Linked DNA regions of Homo sapiens: region 1 is linked to region 2. Evidence: promoter capture Hi-C in human tissues and cell types (Jung and others, 2019). All regions are on one chromosome and are shown on one strand. The core of a region is centred on a gene start or on the middle of the fragment in contact, and the rest is flanking DNA. Distances in the headings are between cores, read along the strand shown. Region 1 has its middle 4.9 kb from the start of TMEM255A. Region 2 holds the start of C1GALT1C1 (C1GALT1 specific chaperone 1).

The links. Contacts are between HindIII fragments. The study calls those that stand out against the background at their distance.
Region 1: a contact is called between a fragment that was not itself captured here and the fragment with the promoter of C1GALT1C1 in region 2, in 1 of the 25 tissues and cell types used here (pancreas).

What each region holds. Positions count from the first base shown.
Region 1 is chrX:120,313,922-120,318,742 of GRCh38, forward strand. No RefSeq gene overlaps it. Among named protein-coding and RNA genes, the nearest start is that of TMEM255A, 4.9 kb to the left of the region's middle. The HindIII fragment of the contact is 6,105 bases long and covers 1-4,821 here.
Region 2 is chrX:120,628,191-120,632,541 of GRCh38, forward strand. It overlaps C1GALT1C1 (C1GALT1 specific chaperone 1), which reads right to left and starts at 1,864. Exons shown (of 2, transcript NM_001011551.3): 1 at 1,727-1,864. RefSeq lists an enhancer at 1,245-2,172 and a silencer at 1,832-2,101. The HindIII fragment of the contact is 19,007 bases long and covers 1-4,351 here.

The DNA of each region.
Region 1 (4,821 bases), core at 1,618-4,117, 310 kb before region 2:
GGGACTTGGAGCACAGCACGCACTCAGTCAAGTTAAAAATGACTTTGAGACCAGTAGCAGTGACAATAGCAGCAGCTGCAGCAGCTTGGAGAGTAGTAGCAGTCTTCTCCCCAGAGATGGTGTATTTGTCTGGAGAGAGGATCGGGAAAAGGGGAGGGACTAGAATGGGAACTGGGGGGAAAACCCCCTACATTTTAACTAAGCCCAGTACATACACCTCTTTTCCTCCAAAAAAAAGTTTATTTTAACTCAAATTGAACAGGATGATTAAAAAGCAAGAGGCAATGTTTCCTGGGCTCCATTCTGATTTTCTTCATGTCAAAACACATGTGGAGTTTATACATAAATAGGTTTATAATAAAACTTACCAATAGGCAAGCCATCTAGATGAAGAAACAGGTCTTTCATGCAAGTGAAGGCTACTATAAAACTGCTTGGTTAGCTTTTGATAAAAAAAAGAAATTATTAAAATGCCTTAAAATAAATCCTTTTCATAGCAAGCTTAATCAAGCATACAGTGTTGCCCTAGGTTGCAAACTGCTTTATAGCATCAGGAAATGTTTACCAATGGGGCTGCAGCCTACTTCTCTCCATCTTCTTCAAACCAGTGATGAGCGCCCTCCCCAGAAGCCTTCAGACCAGTAGAAAAATGCCAGATGGTGCTCTGTGTCTAACACATTCTCCCTGGGAAGAGCCATAGCATTCAATTATCTCCTTATTTTGCTGACCAATTTGACTATTTAAATTACATAGTATACCTTCCTGATTCCAATTCTGGGAATGTGGGCTAGAGAAATGTCTACATGTTTACACACACATACATGCATACATGCATATTTAAAATGGTGGCCATACAGGTATTCACAAGTGCACATACTTATAGACATCCCAGCTAGTATCTCTACGCTCTGGTTATCACCATCCAACTCTCGTTTTCCAGACTTTGGTTGATCAAGGACAGAGAGAAGCTTCAGAATAATGGAGAGCCTCAAAGAGTCCAAACATTCCTAACTGAGGTTGGGGTGTGCCCACCAGACTACCTTAGGTCAATGCCTAGTACTCAGTGCCTGCACCACAAACATGTGAATCTTGATTGAGGAAAACCATAGTTAAGGGTGTTGCCTGATTCTCATTGCCAGCTGGTCTTTTTCTTTGGGTACCAGGAAAATAACCATAGCACCAGGGAACAGTGTTGGTACTTGTCTTTACTTTGTTATTGATTTATTTCTATTTTGTAACCTGTGTTAGTTACCAAACGCTATATAATAAATGTTTTCCAATATCAGTAAAGAAAAAACCTTTGATAATATGATTTAAAATGAATGGAACATAATTTATTTACCATTTCACTGTTATTGAATATTTTAGAGATTGCCAGTTTTTTAACATTGTAAATAATGCAATGAACTAAACCTTTGCATCTTTTTCACCGTAGGATACAATACTATCATGGAATTATTGGTTCAAACGTTCCAAACACATACTTTTAATTAAACTTTTTTTATCAACACACATGTAATAAAATGTACAGACCAATGTATTTTAACACACACACACACACACACACACACACACACACACACTTGTAAACCACCACCCAGATTAAGATATTGAACCTAACATCCCAGATGGCTCTCTTGAGCCCCCTCCCCAGTCAATAACCCTCCCAGAGGTAACCACTATTCTGATTTTTATCAAGTCAGAATATTTTTAAGGCTTTGAAAATGTATTGCCAAATTGCCCTCCCAAATATTTGTAGCAAAGTACATACCCACCATCAGCATCTGAAAGTGTCTGGGTTCCCATGACCTCTTGATTTTACCTTGAAAAGGAGATGTTTAACACTGAAGACACACCTAATTGCAGTCAGCTACGGGAAGGGCCAGTCAAGAAGCTGAAGTTCAGTTGGGCACAAGGCATCCAGTGGGAACCACAGATCTAGGAGGCAGAGGGCGAGGGCAGTGCCAGGGCAGACAACACTGTCACAGCCCACAAGTACAGTCATGTGCCACATAATGATGTTTTGGTCAACAATGGAATGCAGATATGAAGGTGTTCCCATAACATTATAATGGAGCTGAAAAACTCCTATCACCTAGTGACATCATAGTGCAATGTGTTACTCACGAGTTTGTGGTGATGCTGGTGTAAATAAGCTCACTGTGCTGACAATCACGTGAAAGTGTAGCATATACAATTAGGTACAATCCATAATACTTGATAATGATAATAAATGACTATGTTACTGGTTTATGTATTTCCTATACTATACACTTTATCATTATTATAGAGTGTACTCCTTCTACTTAAATATTTTTTAAAAGTTAACTGTAAAACAGCCTCATGTAGGTCCTTTGGGAGGTATTGCAGAAGAAGGCATTGTTGTCATAAAAGATGACAGCTCCATGTGTGTTATTGCTCCTGAAGACCTTCCAGTGGAACAAGACGTGGAGGTAGAAGACAGTGATATTGATGATCCTGACCCTGTGTAGGCATAGGCTAATGTGTGTGTGTTTTGTCTTTGTTCTTAACAAAAAATTTAGAAAAGTAAAGAAAAAAGTTAGAATAGAAAAAGCATGTGGAATAAGGATGTAAAGAAAGAAAATATTTTGTACAGCTGTACGGTGTGTGTTTAAGAGTGTTATTACAAGGGTCAAAAGTTAAAAAAAAGTTTATAATGTACAAGTTACAGTAAGCTAAGGTTAATTTATTGAAGAAAGAATAATCTTTTAAAATAAATGTAGTGCAGCCTAAGTGTACAGTGTTTATAAAGTGTATAGTAGTGTACAGTAATGTCCTAGGCTTTCACATTCCTTCATAATAGGACACAATACTACCATGATTGTATTGAGTCACTCAGTGACTCACCCAGAGGAACTTCCAGTTCTGCAGGCTCCATTCATGGTAAGTGCTCTATACAGGTGTACCATTTTTTATCCTTTATACTGCATTTGTACTGTACCTTTTCTATGTTTAACTATGTTTAGATACACAAATACTGACCATTGTATTACAACAGTATTCAGTACAGTCACATGCTGTACACATTTGTAGTCTAGGTGAGATAGCATATGCCTTATAGCCTAGCTGTGTAGTAGGATATACTATCTAGGTTTTGCCTAATAGCCTAGCTATGCAGTAGGATATACTATCTAGATTTGTGTGAGTACACTCTATGATGTTTGCACAAGGACGAAATCACCTAACGACGCATTCCTCAGAAGGTGTTCCTGTCAATAAGCGATGCATGACTATACCTTAGAAAATTCCAACTGCTCAGGTGTTTTCATTGTCATATTCATTATTGTTCTCTGGTGCAAATACTCAAAGTCTTTCTTATATTTAGCCTTTACAGTTTCGATGATGATCACTTAATTACGTCTGGTACATAGTTGGCATTTCAATACTTGTTGAACATGTTTTACTTATTTTTATCTATTGCTTTATTCTACCTACTAAATAAGACACAACACGGTAAAAGTTCCCAAAACTGCAGAGGTGCTTGATGCAGCAAATTACTCCTGCTCCACAATTCTACTCTCCACAGATAAAAATGCTTTACGGGTTTGAATGCATTATTCCACATTTTTTCTCCATGCATAGTTTTACCTTTGTTTGTTTATTTTGAGAGTTAAATACTCTAAAAAGTATTTTAAAAGTAAACTTGCTAAATAATGAAATAATAAATATTTTTATTAAGGCTTGTAAGTTGCATTTAATAGCTTTCAGATACACCACATCAAAGTCCATCTTCAATCAATCAAACCCAATGGTAGTTCCTTCTTGCATAATAAAATTCCCTCCAACTTACATTATGATACCCACTTAGCTATAATGGGCAGGGAAAGGAAACTACATCTCCTTTCTGATCACTATTGTGTAAGGAAGAGCATCAGGAGAATTACATAAAAATGAATATAAAGAAATGATTCTGATTTCAAAGTACATTGTTTGGAAGCATTAACAAAAACAAAAATGATTCAGGTATACATACTTCTACTGAATTTTTGATAGGAAAGTTAGTTCTGAAAACAGTCCATTTCCTACTACAGAAAGGAGATAGTTTATTTTTAAGGTTAGTCTTTGTTTTCCACAGAATTTCACATCTTCCTAATTTGAAGGCATAAAACAGCAACAGAGAACCATAATGCATGAATCAATGAATACACTAGGGACATGGTGATGTTTAAGAAGGCTAGGTAACTTTTTTTGAATTTCAGAATAAATGTAACAGAGGTTAATAACCACAAATGTTAAGGTTAGAGTGAGATCAGTCTATGAGAAGCATAATTAACATTTTATACTGCAAACTATTTACTACTGAAGGAAAACATCTACACAGAAAAATTCACCATATGTATTACTTTTAAATCGGGGGAAAGGGAGAGGAGATGAGTAGCTTTAAGCCCACAGGAACTGGGTTGGGGATCTTTTGGGGAACCTCACTGTTTAGATGCTATGATTTACCTGCCAGAGATAACAGTTGGTAGGGATAGTAGAATGGGATTCAGTTAAGCTGTTTCCTTCCTTTAATTAATGACAGAGCTCAGTATATCCTTCTCCCTTATCCCCATCAAAAAACATTCATTAAACACCTAATTAGATGTGACATTGTTGAAAGCGGGGGTGCATGTGTCCAGCTGCTTGGTTCAGGCTTGCACTGAAGAGGATTTCTGTGTTCAGTGGTTCTTAGGAATCAATAAATTTGCTACCAGTTCAAACTGCTCCACAGAGCCTTTAAAAATGTTTACACTCTGTGACCCAGTAATCCCACTTCTGGGAATCAGTCCTAAGGAAAGAGAAATCTGGACTAAGATTTAC
Region 2 (4,351 bases), core at 614-3,113:
GATCTCACCACGGCACTCCAGCCAGGGCATCAGAGTGAGACTCTGTCTCAGAAAAAATAAATAAATAAAAGAAATTAAAAGCTGACATTAAATAAACTTGTTGAAAAAAATTGTATGTTAACCATTTATTCTAGTAAAGGCTGAATTTTCCAATCTTCCCTCCATCTTCAGAAAAAAGCAATCTATTGAGCTACTTAGACTTCCCAGTTTTCTCTTATGGTTGAAAGGAGCCTTAGAAAACTACCCAATGTCAGTCACTTCTCTCATTTTACAGAGAGGAAATGGAAGTCCACAGAGGTTAAATAACTGACTCAGTCACACAGTTAGACAGTGGTATAAGTGGACTAGAAACCACATTTCTCAATATCAGTTTAATGGTTTTTTTCCATTACAGAAGAATAATTGCCATAGTGCTTCTACCACATTAGAGTTTAATAAATGGGTTACTGAATATCCTTGTTTTCATACAAATGGGAAAAAAGTGGGATCTGTTGACCATAACTGATATTTTGCACCCAACAGCACCATATTGCTACAAGGAAACCACTCCTGTGGTTTTCTGCTAGAGGAAATGGAATTTTGACTTCTACCAGAAAGACAAGGTGTGGAATAGCTTGGCAGATGTAATTTCTGAGCGGTGGGTGGGGCAAGAGGCAGGAAGACTTTCCTGTGTCACTCACAGAACTTGGTCAATAAACACAGTTCCAAGAAGAGAAGTGACAGAAAACAAGCTCGGCATAATATTAGAATTGTCGGCTGTGTGCGGTGGCTCACGCCTGTAATCCCAGCACTTTGGGAGGCCGAGGCAGGTGGATCACCTGAGGTAGGGAGTTCAAGACCAGCCTGGCCAACATGGTGAGACCCTGTCTCGACTAAAAATACAAAAATTAGCCGGGCATGGTGGCATATGACTGTAATCCCAGCTACTCAGGAGGCTGAGGCAGGAGAATTGCTTGAACCCGGGAGGCGGAGGTTGCAGGCAGTGAGCCAAGATCGCACCACAGCACTCCGGCCTGGGCAACAAGAGCGAGACTCTGTTTCAAAAAAAAAAAAGAAAGAAAGAAAGAAAAAAGAAAAAGAATTGTCAGGTGCACTCTAAGATTAATTTATATAGGATTTTTGTATTTCATGTCACGCAGTTTTCATTATTTCTGGCCAATACATAATTCACATGTTTCTTTGCTCAATTATGGCATATGTGTCAGAATTCTTCCTGATGGTGATCCTACTCCTGGCTGCAAAAATAGTGATCAAAACTCAGTAAGTCTACACATTTTAAATAAAATAATTTGCAAAAATTATTCTAAGGAGATTTTTTCCCCATCACAGAGGCAAAAAATATAACACTAGGGATGCATATGATAGGATACTTTGTGCAGAAGGAAACAAAACTGCACACGAGCACAAATGAAACAGAAACTACCCCAATGGTTTTTAGATGAACCTTTTTGGGTGAAGGTAGTTGGGGTGAAGTACGGAAAACGAAGACGAAATAGGGAAGAGAAGTGAGAGGGAGGACATGGTAACCTCGATATCCCTCTGAGGGACCAAGAGAGCGCCCCCAGGAAGAAGACTCTCGGTCTCCTGTGCTGACAATCCTCCCGCTGCACCTGCCCAAGCATCCCGCGTGGAGCATGCTGGGAGAGGGCTGGGGCCCAGGCCTCCCCCAAGAGAGGGAGGGGAGTCAGGGTGCGCTTGGGGTGGGGGTCGAGGCCCCGCCACTCACCCGCGTCTAGAACGGCTTGGGGACAGGAAAGCGCAGCCGCGCACGGGTTTCCTCTCACGTTGGCGCACCACTCCGTTACGCTCCTGACCAGGCTGTTCTAGCTGCAGGCGGTGTTCTCTCGTTGGTCTCGCTAAAGGTGGGGAGCGCCAGGAAACGAGCGCCGCGAAGGCGGGGGTAGTGGGGCGGGGTAAAGGAGCCGGCGGCTGGGCGGAGCCGTCCGTTTGCCCGCCCGCGCAGGCGTCGGAAGGGCCGGCGCGCCCGCTGCGCGCACACTGCGTGCCCTTTCTCCCCGCCCCCTGCCGAGTTCAGAGACTTGCTATAGGCCTGCGTGACCCGGACGCTCTCCTTTACCCAACGGGCGTCCAGAGAAGAGGCCGTGCGTACGACTCGCTGACACCTCCCATTTCACCTTCCTGGCATGGAAATTGCGAGAGCGAGAGATTCTTGCTCCCGGTGTCGCTTTTTATCAGACCTCTTGATGGTTTCTCTGATGTACCCCTGCGTCCTTGAACCCTCATATTGCCCACCCCCCCAGTACTCCTGGGCTGAGACCAAAACGCAAGCCACTGAAATAGTCACGTAATTATGACACCAACGGTTTCCTATTATTACTGGAATGAGATCTGAAGCCCCACTGCCTGGAATCCAATCCTGTCTTCACCACACCTTTTGATATCCCAGGAAAGTTATTTCACCTCGCTGTGCCTCAGTTCCCTCATTTGTAAAGTACAGAAAATGTCACAGTAGTGCCTATTTCATAGAAAATTAGATGAGATAGTGCATATGACTCCCTTAGCAAAATTTCAAGCCTAGAGTAAGCATTTACTAAAAAGTACTGGCTGTTATTATTCACCCCAGTATTTCTAGTACTTAACCACAGTGCCAGCACGCAGTGGACAGTAAATATTAGTGGAATTAATGAATATTAGAACTACAGCTGAGGAACCAGGCCTAAAAAGGATAAGGAAATTTCAAAAGTCCACACAGCAAGTTAATGGCAGAGGTGGGACTGGAATCCAGGTCTCTTTTTTTTTTTTTTTTGAGACGGAGTTTCACTCTTGTTGCCCAGGCTGGAGTGCAATGGCACGATCTCGGCTCACTGCAACCTCTGCCTCCCGGGTTCAAGCGATTCTTCTACCTCAGCCTCCCTAGCAGCTGGGATTACAGACGCCCGCCACCACGCCCGGCTAATTTTTGTATTATTAGTAGAGACGGGGTTGGCCAGGCTGGTCTTGAATTCCTGACCTCAGGTGATCCACCCGCCTCGGCCTCCCAAAGTGCTGGGATTACAGGCTTGAGCCACTGCGCACGGCCCCCAGGTCTTCTAATTAAGAGTGCAGAGCTCTCTTTCCACGAAATATTTGATGTGTCTCTTTTTTTTTTTTTTTTTTTTGAGACCGAGTTTCGTTCTTTTTGCCCAGGCTGGAGTGCAATGGCGGGATCTCGGTTCACTGCAGCCTCTGCCTCCCGGGTTCAAGTGATTCTCCTGCCTCAGCCTCCCTAGTGGCTAGGATTACAGGTGTGCGCCACCACGTCTGGTTATTATTATTTTTTTTTTTAGTAGAGACGGGGTTTCGCCGTGTTGGCCAGGCTGGTCTCGAACTCCTGACCTCAGGTGTTCCACCCGCCTCGGCCTTCCACAGTGCTGGGATTACAGGTGTGAGCCACCGATCTGTCTTTTAAAATTCATTTTTGGCCAGGCGCAGTGGCTCACGCCTGTAATCCCAAAACTGTGGGAGGCCGAGGCAGGTGGATCACCTGAGGTCAGGAGATCAAGACCATCCTGGCTAACACGGTGAAACCCTGTCTCTACTAAAAATACAAAAAATTAGCCGGGCGCGGTGGCATGCGCCTGTAGTCCCAGCTACTCGGGAGGCTGAGGCAGGAGAATGCCGTGAACCCGGGAGGCGGAGCTTGCAGTGAGCCGAGATAGCGCCACTGCAGTCTGGCCTGGGCGAAAGAGCGAGACTCCGAGGCGGGCGGATCACGAGGTCAGGAGATCGAGACCATCCTGGCTAACACAGTGAAACCCCGTCTCTACTAAAAATACAAAAAATTAGCCGGGCGAGGTGGCGGGCGCCTGTAGTCCCAGCTACTCGGGAGGCTGAGGCAGGAGAATGGCGTGAACCCCGGGGCAGAGCCTGCAGTGAGCCCAGATAGCGCCACTGCACTCCAGCCTGGGCGACAGAACGAGACTCCATCTCAAAAAAAAAAAATAAAATAAAATAAAATAAAATAAAATAAAATAAAATAAAAATTAGTCGGGCGTGGTGGCTCATGCTTGTAATCCCAGCTACTCGGGAGGCTGAGGCAGAAGAATTGCTTGAACCTGGGAGGTGGAGGTTGCAGTGAGCCGAGATCGTGCCACTGCACTCCAGCCTGGGAGAGTGAGCAAGACTCCATCTCAAAAAAAAAAAAAAAATTCATTTTTGTGGCAGAAGGCTTTTTGCTAAAAAGCCCAAATTTTTACAATTATTTAAAGTGTATTGTTACTAGGTTCCATTAAGATAAAATTGAGTGGTGACTTACTCGGGCCTGAGTTCCTAAAGACACACATGTATTTGAGTGTTGTCAGTGACCTAGTTTAAGTAGACTGAAGGTTTCAGGGAACTCTGAAACAATGAA